4 separate regions of the Homo sapiens genome follow, and regions 1, 2 and 4 are each linked to region 3. The links are contacts of gene promoters, found by promoter capture Hi-C in human tissues and cell types (Jung and others, 2019). All regions are on one chromosome and are shown on one strand. The core of a region is centred on a gene start or on the middle of the fragment in contact, and the rest is flanking DNA. Distances in the headings are between cores, read along the strand shown.

Region 1 (3,711 bases), core at 1-2,500, 770 kb after region 3:
GGATCCGGCTGCACGCCTCCAGCATCATCACCTCGGGGACTGTGATGACCACTCGGATGAAATTCGGGTACTCAAAGCACTGCAAAAAGAAGAGTCTGTTACTTTCAGAGCAATTGAGTCTGGTACTGGACCACCCTAAAATGGTCAGGACCCTGATCCACAAGAAGTGGTACCATTTCATCAGGGCCATCAGTTCATTCAGCTCCCATGACTGGGATGCTAAGTCAGCAACTGAGTTCATTCATCTTAAAATGACTTGTGGGACAGGATCAATTTCCTCTCACCTAGAACGTTTGTTTACAACTTTTCTTCCCAGTATGGATGGGATTATGATGGGGGGGAGAAGCAAATTTTAAATAGGATCCATGAGACACATCAGTTTGAATCTTATCAAATGAGAAGACATTTTGTTGGAGGAGAAAAGATCAGGCTAAAAACCAGCTCAGAACTTGCTTCTGGGGCTCTAGAAACTGTTGAGAATGTCCTGAGGGACACAGGCACCCACCGTTGCTGGGAGGCAGTGGACAGACTGCTCAGCAACTAACCGCTCCGTGAACTCCACATCGTTCTCAAATTCTGGGAAATGTTCCATCTCAATTCCAACCTATACCAACAGGAGGGAGAGGCCAACTTATCAGAAGGAGGGAGAACAGGCCAATTTCCTGTGCCAGAAATTAAGGTAGGGGCTACTTTAAAAGATATCTTGGAACTGTGCTACTGATCACTGATAAATAAGAGGGCTAATATTTATGGAATTTTTCTCAGGGAAGACAGGATATATTTTTATTAATAAATATTAAAGAGTTCCTTCCCTGATGCTGATAAATAAAAGCTGGAAATAGAATGCTAGTATGTCTCAAAAGAGACACTACTGGCATTAGGGCCAGGCAACTCTTTATGGCATGAGACTAGCCCACCCCTTGCAGGATATTTAACATCCCTGACCCACAAAATGGCAGCCCCTAGTCATTCTGAAAACAAACAAAATTCCCATACATTCCCAGATACCCTTAGGGAACCAGTATCACTCCCAGTTGAGAATTACAATGGTATGAAAAGCCTCTTATTTGTGTTTTAAATCTTCCCTGTATCTACATATATAAAATGATTCTCTGTACTGAAAAATTAAATCTTTTTTTTTTTTCTTTTCGGATGGGGTCTCACTCTGTCTCCCAGACGGGAGTACAGTGGCACGATTATGGCTCACTACAGCCTCAACCTCCAAGGCTCAAGTCATTCTTCCATCTCAGCCTCCCAAGGAGCTAGGACTACAGGAGTGTGCCACCACGCCCAGCTCATTTTTTTTATTTCTTGTAGAGACAATAGAGTTTCACCATGTTGCCCAGGCTGGTCTCTAACTCCTGCGCTCAAGTGATCCGTCCACCTTGGCCTCCCAAAGTGCTGGCATTGCAGGCGTGAGCCACCATGCCCTGCCTAATTAAGTCATTTAAAGAGTTTTATGAGAACTGATAGAGGCTAAATTACCTCAGTGGGACAATTCAGAATAAGACAACTCCTAAACTGCTTGGCTTAGGAGGCCAGCTGGTTGTCTTTGTACCCTGCGTGACTGCCTGTGGCAATTCTGCTGAATGACTGCCCTTTGCCTTACAACATGCATTGACCTAGTGCCTGCCACCCACATACTCACCATGAGGTACATAGCCCCAGAAGGGCGGACTGGCCGGAGTCCAGGGATGGCAGCCAACGCCCCATAACAGAGATCAGCATTGGACTACAAGAAGAGGCAAGGAGAAATCAAGGATCAAAATTTAAGTAAAAGAAAAGCCAAGTCATTAAAAATAGCCCCCTCATTGAAGAGTGGGAACGTAGGTGTGATGTTCTGGCATAAGGAGTGAAAAAGAAAAAGCTCTATTACTTGAAGCTTTTCACCAGGGGCAGAGAGAATGGCCGGAAGTGAGAAACGTGTGTGTGGATGCTTACACCGATGCCGTCTCCTAATATTGGAACATGGCTCCAGAAAGGAGAACCAATTATTCCTAATTCCACGGGCGGCATTCTCTGACTCCCAAACTCCCAAAGTGGAGGGCAGGAGCTGCCCTTACCTTGAGGAAGCTCAGAGTGTTGTGGTAAAACTCTCCCGGGGTGCGACATAGGATGCTTTTCAGAGCTCCCTGGACAATGGTACAGGGTCCCAAAATGCGCTGACTCAGCTTCACCAGCCCATCTCGGATCTAAAAGACACCCACAAGAAACATGTTGTTTAGCTTTTCTTAAGCATCTCTGTCTTAGAGTTTCTTGTTCTGACCTTTCTATCAGGTTTTTAATCTTGGAAAGTGATGGTGTCTAGTGGCATTCTTAGATCAGACCCTCTGGGTTCGTAGCCCAGCTCTGCCACACACATGCTGCTTGACTGACAAGGAGAAAGAAAAGAAAAAAGCCTCCCTTGTCCCCACTGTGCTCATGAAATAAATATATACCCTAAATTACACATACTCTTTCACCATATTATCACCTCATTGCCAAAAATGTCTCTTCGGTCATGAATGAGGATCCAGCCCAACCTCCAGCCAGGAACCAGCCAGCGCTTGGCCAGCCCTCCACAGGACAGGATGGGGACATCGGTGCTGAGGGTGGCCAGTGGTTCATATTTGCAATCCGAAAACACCTGAGAAGAGGCACTTGTTATGGTTGTTTTCTTGTCTACTTCTCACTGCAATCCCAGATCCCGTGGCTCCCACCCATTTCCTTCTATCACTAGGGACAGGTCCTTGGATTAATGGGATCATCCCTACCCTGAAGCATGACTGGGATTGCAAGAGGCTTTGAAGGGGACTACACAAAGACATTTAATTTGGTGTCTGGACTGGATTAAAGGAAGCCTAAAATGAGGAAACTGACCCTAGCCCAGTAATATTTACAACTCCATGAAGCTGGCTCTATGAAATTACTGTCTATAGGAGTTACAGATTTAAAATATAAGTCCACAATCCCTTATCTGAAATTCCTGGGGCCAGGTATTTTCATAATGCAAAATGGTTTGGGCTTCAGAAAGGCCATGTAGCACACTTACCATACGTTATGTAACACTCCCAGAGCTGTCTAGGATAGTACCCCTAATCAAGAATATTAACATTTCTGCCATTTTCCCCACACTCTTAACAAATATATAGATCCACAAGTGGGAAAAATAAAAATCTACAAATATCAGGTCAAATCAGGTTTTGTAACCAAATGAATTCCAGGAATCTTTGGATTTCCAAAGTTCTTTGGGTTTCAGAAAACTGGCTAAGGAGTTGTGGGTCTATATATTTGTAAAAAGTGCAGGGATGCTGATTTGCTGTAATGAAACGATTAGGAGTTGTTTCTGATTATTCCACTTCTAAAGTTCCCATAAAATAATTTGAGATTACTGTAGTGATATATCCTGATCAAGACTCACCATGTCTCCATAGATCTCATCAGCTAAGATGGGGACACACTGCCGTGCAGCCACTGAAAATAAAACATGCTGAAATCAGTTTTAATGTGAATTGCTTTATCATGTAATAGTCACATAATATCATGTAATTTCCCTATCCCGTAATATTAAGAAGTTACAATTCTTAAAGAGAAAGACAAAAAGCACAAGCAAAGTGTGATTTGCATTTCATGTTTGTGTGTTTTGTCTTCCTATTTAAGAACTGTAAATTCTTAACATACTCTTCCAGAGTGCAGAGCCTGAATTCACCATTTAAGTAACTAGATATTTCA
Region 2 (3,579 bases), core at 1,029-3,528, 750 kb after region 3:
ATCAGGACCCCTTTCCGGTAACACATGTGTTCACAGGGTGAAGCTTATGAACTAATCGATTGCCACCTGCAAGCACTTGGCAAATACTTGCTGACTGATTGCTTTACAACCTGGTTTTTAGCCAAATCTCCAAGAAGAAAGTTTCTGGCTTGTTTTCTTTCTCCACTCTCATAATGGCCAAGTATGATTAAAGGAATGGCTTGGGGGAATAGTCATCTTTGATCTTTTCTCTCACCTTCTACATTCTATCCATCAGCAAATCCTGTGAGCTCAACTTCCAAAATATACCCTGAATCAGACCACTTCTCACCATTTCTACCGCTACAGTGTTAATCCAACCTCAAATCCAAAGCAACCTCAAATCTCTCTTGAACTTCTACAAGAGCCCCCTAACTGGTCTCTCATCTCTTTTCTTTCAGCATACTTCACCTTCCATTACTATTCAGAAGCTCTTTTACTATTCAGAAGTTGAGGCAGGGAACTCAACTGGGGTTTCCTTCCAAAACCCAGTCCCCACTTGTATGGCAGAAGCTATTCCTAGGCACAGAAGGCTCAGAAAATTGTCTCAATTACCTCCACACCAGCTCACTCATAGGTTTTATGCCAGGAGGCGCAGGCTAGAAAGACTAGGGGCTACCATCCAAATCCAAGGCTCCACTTGTGGAGCAAGGCAGGTGTATCATTTCAGAAGAAGTGGACCACATTCCTTGTCCCCCCGACTCTGATGTAGTGGCAGAGATTCTGTCCAGGGGGAGAGAAGGCCATAAGAATAGAGAGCTCAGAGACTCTTTCAAAAAGGACTTACTGAGCTGGGTGCGGTGGCTCATGCCTGTAATCCCAGCACTTTGGGAGGCCAGCGGGGGTGGATCACCTGAGGTCAGGAGTTCGAGACCAGCCTGGCTAACATGGCAAAATCCCATCTCCACTAAAAATACAAAATTAGCCAGGCATGGTGGCACACACCTGTAATCCCAGCTACTCGGGAGGCTGATCCAAGAGAATCGCTTGAAACCGGGAGACAGAGGTTGCAGTGAACCAAGGTCGTGCCACTGCACTCCAGCCTGAGCAACAGAGCAAGACATTGTCTAAAATAAAATAAAATAGAATAAAATAAAATAAAATAAAATAAAAGGACTTACTGTACTTAGAGGAAAATGTGAGGAAGTTCATGCCTAAGTGTGCTGTCAAAAACTGGAGATTTTGGTGGTAAACAATTAGGAGGAGTCTCTTAGCTCCATTAAACTACTAGCAACAAATAAAATGGTAGACCAGCTAGAAGTTTAACAGAGAACCAGGGAAAGAGACAGCTAAGCAGAGCCCTCCTGGGCTCGAAGCAAGCCTCAAAGACCGCCCCAGCAAAGGGACCTGACTAGCTGAATCAGGTGATGGAGCAATTTATGCCCCAGACATTGTTACAAAAAAAAAATAGAGCAACCAGCTAGCAGTTATTGGTAGCTAACAGCTGGATATGTTACCGAGAAAGTCAGACCAGAAAGAAGCTTAACAGGGGACCAGAGAAAATATAATTAAAGAGAACCCTGCTAAAACTCCAGTAATCTCAGCTCATCAGAGGGACTATGTGCATGGCCAAGGCTTCACTCTCTAAGGAGCAACATTACACTATGAGGGAAATGGATTTCAATAATCTGTTCCAGCCAAGTCACTAAAGAAATAAAAAAAAAAGCAAATAACGGGCCCCAGATGAGAGGGTGATTAATATTCAGAATCTATAAAATTTATCTGAAATGCATAATTTTCAACAAAAATTATGAGATTTGCAAAGACATAGAAAAGTGTGACCCAAAAACAAAAAGGGGGAAAATCAGGCAATAGAACATGCCTTTGAGGAGCCCAGATGTTGGACTTAACAAAGACTTCAAAGCCCCTGTTATAAATATGTTCAAAGAACTAAACGACACCATGCTTAAAGAATTAAAGGAAGGTATGTTGACAATGTCTCATCCAACAAATATTATCAATAAAGAGATAGAAAATATTTTTAAAAGAATGAATGAAAATGAAGATATAACATACCAAAACTTATGGGATAGAGCTAAAATAGTGCTTAAAGGGAAATATTTAGCTGTAAATATCAATGTTAAAAAAGGAAGAAAAATCTCAAATCAATAACTAAACTTCCACCTTGAAAACAGAAGAAAAGAAAATCAAACTCAACCCAGAGCAAGAAGAAAGAAAGAAACAATAGGCCAGGCATGGTGGCTCATGCCTATAATCTCAGCACCTTGGAAGACTAAAGCAGGAGGATCACCTGAGCCCAGGAGTTTGAGACCAGCCTGGGCAACATAGTGAGACCCCATCTCTAAAAAAAAAAAAAAAAAAAAATTTAAATTAGCAGCGATGGTGGTGTGCACCTGCAGTCCCAGCTACTCAGGAGGCTGAAGTGGGAGGATCACTTGAGCCTGGGAGGTCGAGGATGCAGTGAGCCATGATTGCACCACTGCACTCCAGCCTGGGCAACAGAACAAGACCCTATCTCAAAAAAAAAAAAAAAAAGAGAGAGAGAGAGCAAGAGAGAGAAACAATAAAAATTAGAGCAGAAATAAAGGAAATAGAGAGTGAGAAGTGGGAGAGAGAAAAAAATCAGTGTAACCAAATTTGGTTCTTTGAAAAGATCAACAAAATAGACAGTTTTAGCTAGACTGACCAACAAAAGAAAACAGACTAATTACTAAAATCAGAAATGAAAGAGGGACATTATTACTGACCTTACAAAAATAAAAAAGAATTATCAGGGAATACTAAAAACAACCAGTTAGATAACTTAGATGAAATGGACACATTCCTAGAAAGATACAAACTACCAAAACTAACTCAAGAAGAAATAGAAAATCCGAAAACACCTATAACAAGTAAAGAGATTAAATTAGTAATTTAAAATTTCTCGCCTGTAATCCCAGCACTTTGGGTGGCCGAGGCGGGCAGATCACTAGGTCAACAGATCGAGACCATCCTGGCCAACATGGTGAAGCCCTGTCTCTACTAAAAATACAAAAATTAGCTCGGTGTGGTGGTGCGCGGCTGTAGTCCCAGCTACTTGGGAGGCTGAGGCAGGAGAATTGCTTGAACCCGGGAGACAGAGGTTGCAGTGAGCCGAGATCACGCTACTGCACTCTAGCCTGGTGACAGAGTGAGACTCCGTCTAATAAAAAAAAAAAGCTCTCATAAAGAATAGCCCAAGCGACTTTGCTGGTGAATTCTAACAAACATTTAAAGAATTTCTATGAATCCTCTCAAACTCTTCCAAAATACAGAAAAATAGTACACATTTCCCAATTCATTCTAGAAGCCAATGTTACCCTGATAGAAAAACCAGACAAACATATCACACAAAAAACTACATACCAATATATCTTATGACTATGGATGTAAAAGCAACAAAATACTAGTCAATGGAATCCAGTAACATGTAAAAAGAATTATACACCATTTTCAACTGGGAATTGTCCAGAAATGTAAGGTTGGTTTTACATTGTAAAATCAATTAACACAATACACTATGTTAATAGAATAAAGGATAAAAACCACTTGACCCATCTCAATAGATGCAGAAAGACAGTT
Region 3 (3,418 bases), core at 79-2,578:
TGCTGCCCTATATAGCAGCCAATAGCTACATGTGGCTATTGAACACTTGAAATACGGGTAGTGTGACTGAGAAACTAAAGTTTAATCTTTAATAATTTAAATTTATAATAGCTACGCACGGCCAACGGCTACTCTACTGGACAGAACAGAAATACAATTCACCTTTTCTGACTCGCAGACTGGTATTCTTCCAGTTTCACAGCCTGCTTCTTTCCAATTTTCTGAAATCACTCACTCACTTGACTTTAACACTAAAATGTGACTGGGAAAAAACCCACAAAAGTAAAATAATACTGCAGAAAAAAAAATAAATAAAACATCCCCAGTTAAACTTTCGCTGTTTTGTACATTGGGAAATAAAGTAAAATATCAGATCATTGTTACACATACATGTAACAAGACTGCAGAAGCAAGAAAGGTCAAATTATTTCTACTTCCACTTGCAGGGAAGGGTGTTATAACACAGATAAAACAAAAAACTCTCTGAGCCTTGAGATCACGAGTTTTCCGACCTGATTTCTCTACTTGGTCACTAACAATCTCCTTCACTTCTCAGAAGCTGGGTAAGAAACCAGGCTGGTCAGCATCACCTGCAAATTCTCCGGCTTCTGACTTCTCTCTCACCACAGAGACAACTCTCTGATTTGCTGGTTTGGGTGGCACCGCACCGAAGACTCACCATGTGCCATGCACTGTGCAAAGCACTACCCATACATGATGTCACTTCATTCTCACTGCAGCCCTTTGTGGCACCGGGAGGTTAAAAAGCTGGGACCAAATCACACAGCCAGTCAGGAGTAAAGCAGGGACTCCCAGATATGGCTCCCAATCTGCTCTTAAACACTGCGCTAAGGTAAGGGCCTAAAACCTGGGAAAGTAACCCTGGCTGGGAAGGCGTGAGAAGTCCCCCTGGGGAGCAGAGCAGTCAGGGGCTGCATAGCCAGGGAGGGGTCCTGGCGGCTCTTACTTCTCGATCTCCAGCGCTGCCACCTTCCGCTTTTCGTACAGCTTGTCATTGAGGGCGCGCACGATGTTAGGCGTGAGCGGCGCGAAATCCTTCTCGGGGTTCATGGTGGCAGCTGGGGGAACCTCGCGACTCCTTAGCCCGCGGCTGCCGGGGCCGCGCCGGGGCCAGGGGAGTCTGCGGCTCCGCTCTGCCCCCGGCGCCGGCGCATGGACCACGCCGCTCTAGGCTTGCCTGCCACGCTCCGCCGCCTCGCCCTGGAACCCGGGCCCGGACCCCGCTCCAGCACACCTGACCCTGGCCGCTTAACAACTCCCGCCCGGCACTAGCGGGACTCACGAGACAGCGGCCATGTTACTCGAGTCACATGACTCTACAGCACTTCCGCCTTCCGTCGCGAGGGCCCGCCCCTCTCCAGCCACGCCCCCACCGCAGGCCGCAGGTGGATTGGCCACGCCCTCGGAAGGCTCCACCCACACTGCACACACTATCGCGCTGCGCGCCAGGTAGCTGGAGTGTGGTTTGAGACGTGCTTTAATGGGTGTGTAGCTCACGCCCAACTGATGGCACGTGGTGGGCTTCTGTAGACGTTCGTAAGACCGAATGGGTTCTTGGAGTCTGATTCACTTAACATAATTTATTCAATAGTCACCGAATTCACTAGTTCATTCAGTAGTTGGTCACTTACCAATTTCCTAGATGCAGACGTTTCCCTAACTGCAGTAACACTGTCATCACTTTCACCATATTCTAGCCACTTGTATTATCTATTTAATGTTTTCCTCAAATCAACTCACTTTAAAAAATACCTTAAATCTCTTTTAGCTTTGCTTATGCCCTAAAACCATGAGTTTGAATAGGTATATTTTTTCTAAGACACATCAAAATAAATTCTCAATTAAAAATGGCACTACCTGTCTACCACCTAAGATCTCAGGTACCACCAGTGTCTGTCACTCCACCATTTGGGGGTGTGTTTAACATGCTCTGATGCCTAGGAGGGCTGGTTACAGACAGAGAGAAAGGCCCCAGATCTGCTGAGTGCGGGTCTCTAGATAGGTCCCCTGGAAAGCAGCCCCTTCAGCTGCTTCGGGAATCACATTACATGGTGAGACAGAAATCCCAACTATGTGGCAAAATATTTAAAAGCAATTTATGGCCGGAGTGTGGTAAACATGCAGTTAACAGGGAGGTGCATCAGCCTTTCCTATCATAAGCTTTCAGAGTGAACAGGGACTTAGGACAAGGGCTAGATTACAGTGGAGCTCAAAGAATAACAGTTTCAGAATGCATGGTGATACTTTTCTTTAATGAATGAAAAGTGCATATATAGGCCTTATAACAGTCTTGAAAATGGAGTATTTTCCTCAACAGAAACAGGGACGCAATGAGTAAAGGGCAAAAGTAGGCAGAATTCTAGGATGACCTCCAATATTCCCACCCCTTCGTGTTCATGCCCTGTATTATGCCCTCTTTCAGCGTGAACAAGACTTGTAAATATGATGGGCTATGCATCACTCACATGATTATATTATGTAATATCGCAGAAGAGATTTTGCAGATGTAATTAAGGTCCCTAATCAGCAGACATTGAATTAATAAAAAGAGAGATTAACTTGAGTCGGCCTGACCGAATCAAGTGAGTACTTAAAAGAGATTAGAAGAAATTTGAACTGGAAGAGAGACTCTCCTGTAAGGAGTTTAGTCATATGGCCACAAAGGAATGAATTTTGCCAACACATTGAGGGTCCTTGGAAGCAGATCTTTCCCTAGTTGAGCCTCCTGATGAGGATGCAGCTGGCCAGCACCTTGATTTCAGCCTTGTGGAACCCTGAGCTGAGAATCCAGTTCACACTGGGCTCTCAACCCATGGAAACTGTGAGATAATAAATTTGTGTTGTTTTGCTCTCCTAGTTTTGTGGTAATTTGTTATGCAGCCATAGAAAATGAATACAAAGGCTAATCCAAAACTCGGCAAGTCATGGATATATCATGTCTAGAAAAATCCATAAAAAATGTATTCTCCTATACAGGTGGGGTTTTCATAGTTGTTAAAACCTTTGCTGACACAATCCTATGAATGAAGGTAGGTGCGCTAACAAGTAGTAGTAGTGCTGCCAAGGACATCTCCAAATGTCTTGCAAAGTTTGGTTTTAGGATTTTGATGATGGTTGATGAAAAACACTGAAAAAATGTAAATCAATGGGAATGATTTGGTTCTATTTCTCCAATGTGTGTGCATTTCCACGGGACGCATATCTAATATATTTCATGTTTCTTTTGCTTTTTGGTTTGGCTTTTTCTTAGAGGTGAACTGAATTTCCCAAGGGTAATGATACAGTTTTTAATAATTCAAACAATAAGGAATTTTTTTTTTACCAGAAGTATTCTTTTCTCCTGAAATTATATTCTGGCTCAGGTTGCTAAGTAACCAGTTTTTTATTCAAGGCCCAG
Region 4 (3,365 bases), core at 817-3,316, 670 kb after region 3:
TGTCAGTAATGAAGTTAGTAATGCATAAGTTTGTAAATATGACATATTATAAGTAGGAGAAAGACCTACAGTGCCAAACTCCTTCAAAGTTTTTTGTGCATAACCTCACAGAAACATGCTAACAACAATCAAGTTCGGAAGATTTTTACCACAGAGAAAGCAGATCCAATCCATTGTATGTTTCTGAAAATAGGTTAACAGGTGGGGGTTAGCACGTGAGGAGAGGGCATGAAAAAGAATCAAGCAGCCTGTCTCCAAATGAATACAACATACCTTCTTTCTCACATGTATTGCCTGATAATTTGCTTATATGTGCCTAGGAAGAGCCCTGAGCATTCTTCCTTACATAGTATGACCAGGTATTACACATTTTCCCCTAACTTGAAGGACGTTGGCCTCTGGCATAACACAATGATACTAGGTACCAATCCCATAGACCTCCCAAGGGAATCGGTCCAATTATCAGCTCTGATGCTGAAGTTTCTAGAAGGAAGAGAAAGAATCTCAACCCCCACCGTGTCATAAAGAACCTTGTAAAAGACTGCTGATTTTAGAGGATTACAATTGCCAGGTACACCGGAGTGGAAAGCCCCAAGAAATTAACAGTGACCACTACAACCTGTGTTTAGTGTCATCCAGGTACAAAGGACAGCAGTAGAAAACAGAGAAGCCGTGGTGCTGTCCAAGGTGCTAGCTCCGACTCAGTGGGGGGGGGGGGGGGGGTGTGTCTGTGGCGCTCTCCAAGGTTCTGGGGCTGGCCTCAGAACCATTGTCCTCCAACCTGGTGTGTTGGTCCCCTCTGACTATATATGTGTGTGTGTTTTTGAGGAGTCTCACTCTTGTCACCCAGTCTGGAGTGCAGTGGCACGATCTCAGTTCACTGCAACCTCCACCTCCCGGGTTCAAGCGATTCTCTGGCCTCAGCCTCCCGAGTAACTGGGATTACAGGCGCCCACCACTACACCTGGCTGATTTTTGTATATTTAGTAGAGATGGGGTTTCACCATATCGACCAGGCTGGTCTCGAACTCCTGACCTCAGGTGATCCACCTGCCTTGGCCTCCCAAAGTGCTGAGATTACAGGCATTAGCCACCATGCCCAGCCTCCCTCTGGCTATATTTTAAGCCTGATATCCAAATACTTAATCTCACCCTATTCCTTTCTTTGAATTCATTTGGTCAGAACCTGACACGTATCACCCAGTGCCCCAGTTCCTACTTGTCTTCTCTATCACTCTGCCTCAAAATCCAGAGATTCCAAGGATGATAATTTATTGTGGGCCCAAATGGCTAAGAGAGGCTCTTCTGGGAAGCTTTCTTACATCATATAAATTTTTGTTAACATGAATTATTTGTATTTGAAAGATTTAAAAGACAAGGAAGCTATGTATTGTTCTTGTTGTTAACAATAAATTACCTCAACACTATTTGAACATAATAAAAATGTAATAAAACCTGAAACTTCGTGTGTTCCAATTGCTTTATTCAACTAACTTACACTCCTTTCCTGGTGAGTTACCTTGCATTCAGGTGTTCTGAGCCATGAAAACATTTTTCTTTCTTTTCTCTTTTTTGTAGAGATGGGGTCTCGCTATGCTGCGTTGGCTGGTTTGGAACTCCTGGCCTCAAGGGATCCAACCATTTTAGTCTCCCAAAGTGCTAGGATTATAGACATGTGCCATGATGCCTGGCCCAAAGACATCTTTAATCTGAATTGCACTTCATTAACTATTAGACACATTTATGTTTATTATGTAATGCTTTCTTCACATCCATACTGAAGAAGATCCAGTAGGTATTATATCTATTTTATAGATGAAGAAAAACAAAGCTTACATGTTACAGTCTTTGTAGAACATAGACTGTAGTGGGGGACACAACTTTTAAGTAAATCCACACCTGGATAAATATATTATTGTAAACTTTCATTCGTGTGAGGGAGGTAAAGAGCAAGGTGTTTAGGAGATAATATCAAGGGAATACCATTTTAACTTGGAGGTAAGGAAAGGCCTGAGGAAGTGATCTTGATCTTGGGCTGAGACCTGAAAGATAAGAATGAACTATCTGGGCACATAATCAAGGAGACAGCATTCCAGGCAGGAGGAATAGCATGTGTAGGCCCTTCAGTGGAAAAAAAAAAAAAAAAAAAGCTTGACACATCATGGGGAGAGAGGAGGGAGGAAGTGCTGCGCCATGAAGTCATTAGAGCTTTGCAGGCCATGTTAAAGAGTTTGGATTTTATTCCAAGGTCAATGGAAACCCATTGAAATGTTTTAAGAAAAGCATGTTATGTTCCATATTTTTAAAAGCACACCTGGCTGCTGACTGGCAGATAGATTAGAAGGATTCAAGAGCAGAAGTGGGGAGACTACTTAAGGAGCAATTGTGGTAGTCTAGGAAAGAAATGTTGGTGGCTCAGAACAAGGCAGTAGCACCAGGAACTGGAGAGAAGCTCCATGTTGCTCATCAGTAACATGTTCTGTCATCATGTGCTATCATCTAGCATGTTGCTTAGCACACAGAAGTCACTAAATAAATATTTATTGCCAGGCACAGTGACCCATGTCTGTGATTCCGGCACTTTGGGAGACCAAGGTGGGAGGATTGCTTGGCCTCAGGAGTTCTAGACCAGCCTGGGCAACATAGTGAAACCTTGTCTCTACAAAATATACATAAATTGATGGGCACAATGGCTCACACCTGTAATCCCAGTACTTTGAGAGGCTGAGGTGGGCAGATCACAAGGTCAGGAGTTCGAGACCAGCCTGGCCAATATGGTGAAACCCCATCTCTACTAAAAATACAAAAATTAGCCAGGCGTGGTGGCGCTTGCCTGTAGTCCCAGCTACTCAGGAGGCTAAGGCAGAAGAGTCGCTTGAACCCACGAGGCAGAGGTTGCAGTGAGCCGAGATCATGCCACTGCACTCCAGCCTGGGCAACAGAGCGAGACTCCATCTCAAAAAAAAAATTTATATATATATATAAACTGGGTGTGGTGGCGCATGCCTGTAGTCCCAACTACTAGGGAGGCTGAGGTACGAGGATCACTTGAGCCTGGGAGGGCAAGTCTGCAGTGAGCCATGATCGTGCCACTGCACTCCAGCCTGGGTGGTAGAGCAAGACCCTGTGTCAAAAAAAAAGTTGAGTAATTAATAAAATCATTTATTGTATGTGGCATACTTCTAAGGATTCTTTTATTTGCATGGCTCCAAGTGCTTGTTTTAGTTGATAATCTGAGGGACATGCATTGCCAGGTCCTCCTTACAGGCTGATAACCGTGATATTTACCATGTTTTACCTCCTGGCCACACATAGCTACAGTTATATAAACAACTTAGTCTATCTAAAATTAGGCACTTCAGTGA

The links. Contacts are between HindIII fragments. The study calls those that stand out against the background at their distance.
Region 1: a fragment that was not itself captured here is called in contact with the fragment with the promoter of VAC14 in region 3 in 1 of the 25 tissues and cell types used here (dorsolateral prefrontal cortex).
Region 2: a fragment that was not itself captured here is called in contact with the fragment with the promoter of VAC14 in region 3 in 1 of the 25 tissues and cell types used here (dorsolateral prefrontal cortex).
Region 4: a contact is called between a fragment that was not itself captured here and the fragment with the promoter of VAC14 in region 3, in 1 of the 25 tissues and cell types used here (dorsolateral prefrontal cortex).

What each region holds. Positions count from the first base shown.
Region 1 is chr16:71,568,206-71,571,916 of GRCh38, forward strand. TAT (tyrosine aminotransferase) reads right to left here. Exons shown (of 12, transcript NM_000353.3): 7 at 3,401-3,453; 8 at 2,474-2,626; 9 at 2,064-2,192; 10 at 1,649-1,732; 11 at 506-604; 12 at 1-79. All of the region lies in intron 2 of TAT-AS1 (TAT antisense RNA 1), which reads left to right. Among named protein-coding and RNA genes, the nearest start is that of TAT-AS1, 5.0 kb to the left of the region's middle. RefSeq lists an enhancer at 3,589-3,711. The HindIII fragment of the contact is 5,920 bases long and covers 1-3,711 here.
Region 2 is chr16:71,548,952-71,552,530 of GRCh38, forward strand. No RefSeq gene overlaps it. Among named protein-coding and RNA genes, the nearest start is that of TAT-AS1, 14 kb to the right of the region's middle. The HindIII fragment of the contact is 3,015 bases long and covers 772-3,579 here.
Region 3 is chr16:70,799,830-70,803,247 of GRCh38, forward strand. It overlaps VAC14 (VAC14 component of PIKFYVE complex), which reads right to left and starts at 1,329. Exons shown (of 19, transcript NM_018052.5): 1 at 968-1,329. The coding sequence starts at 1,071. It overlaps HYDIN (HYDIN axonemal central pair apparatus protein), which reads right to left. Exons shown (of 86, transcript NM_001270974.2): 86 at 2,255-3,418. RefSeq lists enhancers at 1,015-1,637, 1,305-1,364 and a silencer at 1,035-1,224. The HindIII fragment of the contact is 10,557 bases long and covers 1-3,418 here.
Region 4 is chr16:71,467,255-71,470,619 of GRCh38, forward strand. LOC124903709 (a long non-coding RNA gene) reads left to right here. Exons shown (of 2, transcript XR_007065105.1): 2 at 1-1,461. Among named protein-coding and RNA genes, the nearest start is that of ZNF23, 6.7 kb to the left of the region's middle. The HindIII fragment of the contact is 3,482 bases long and covers 326-3,365 here.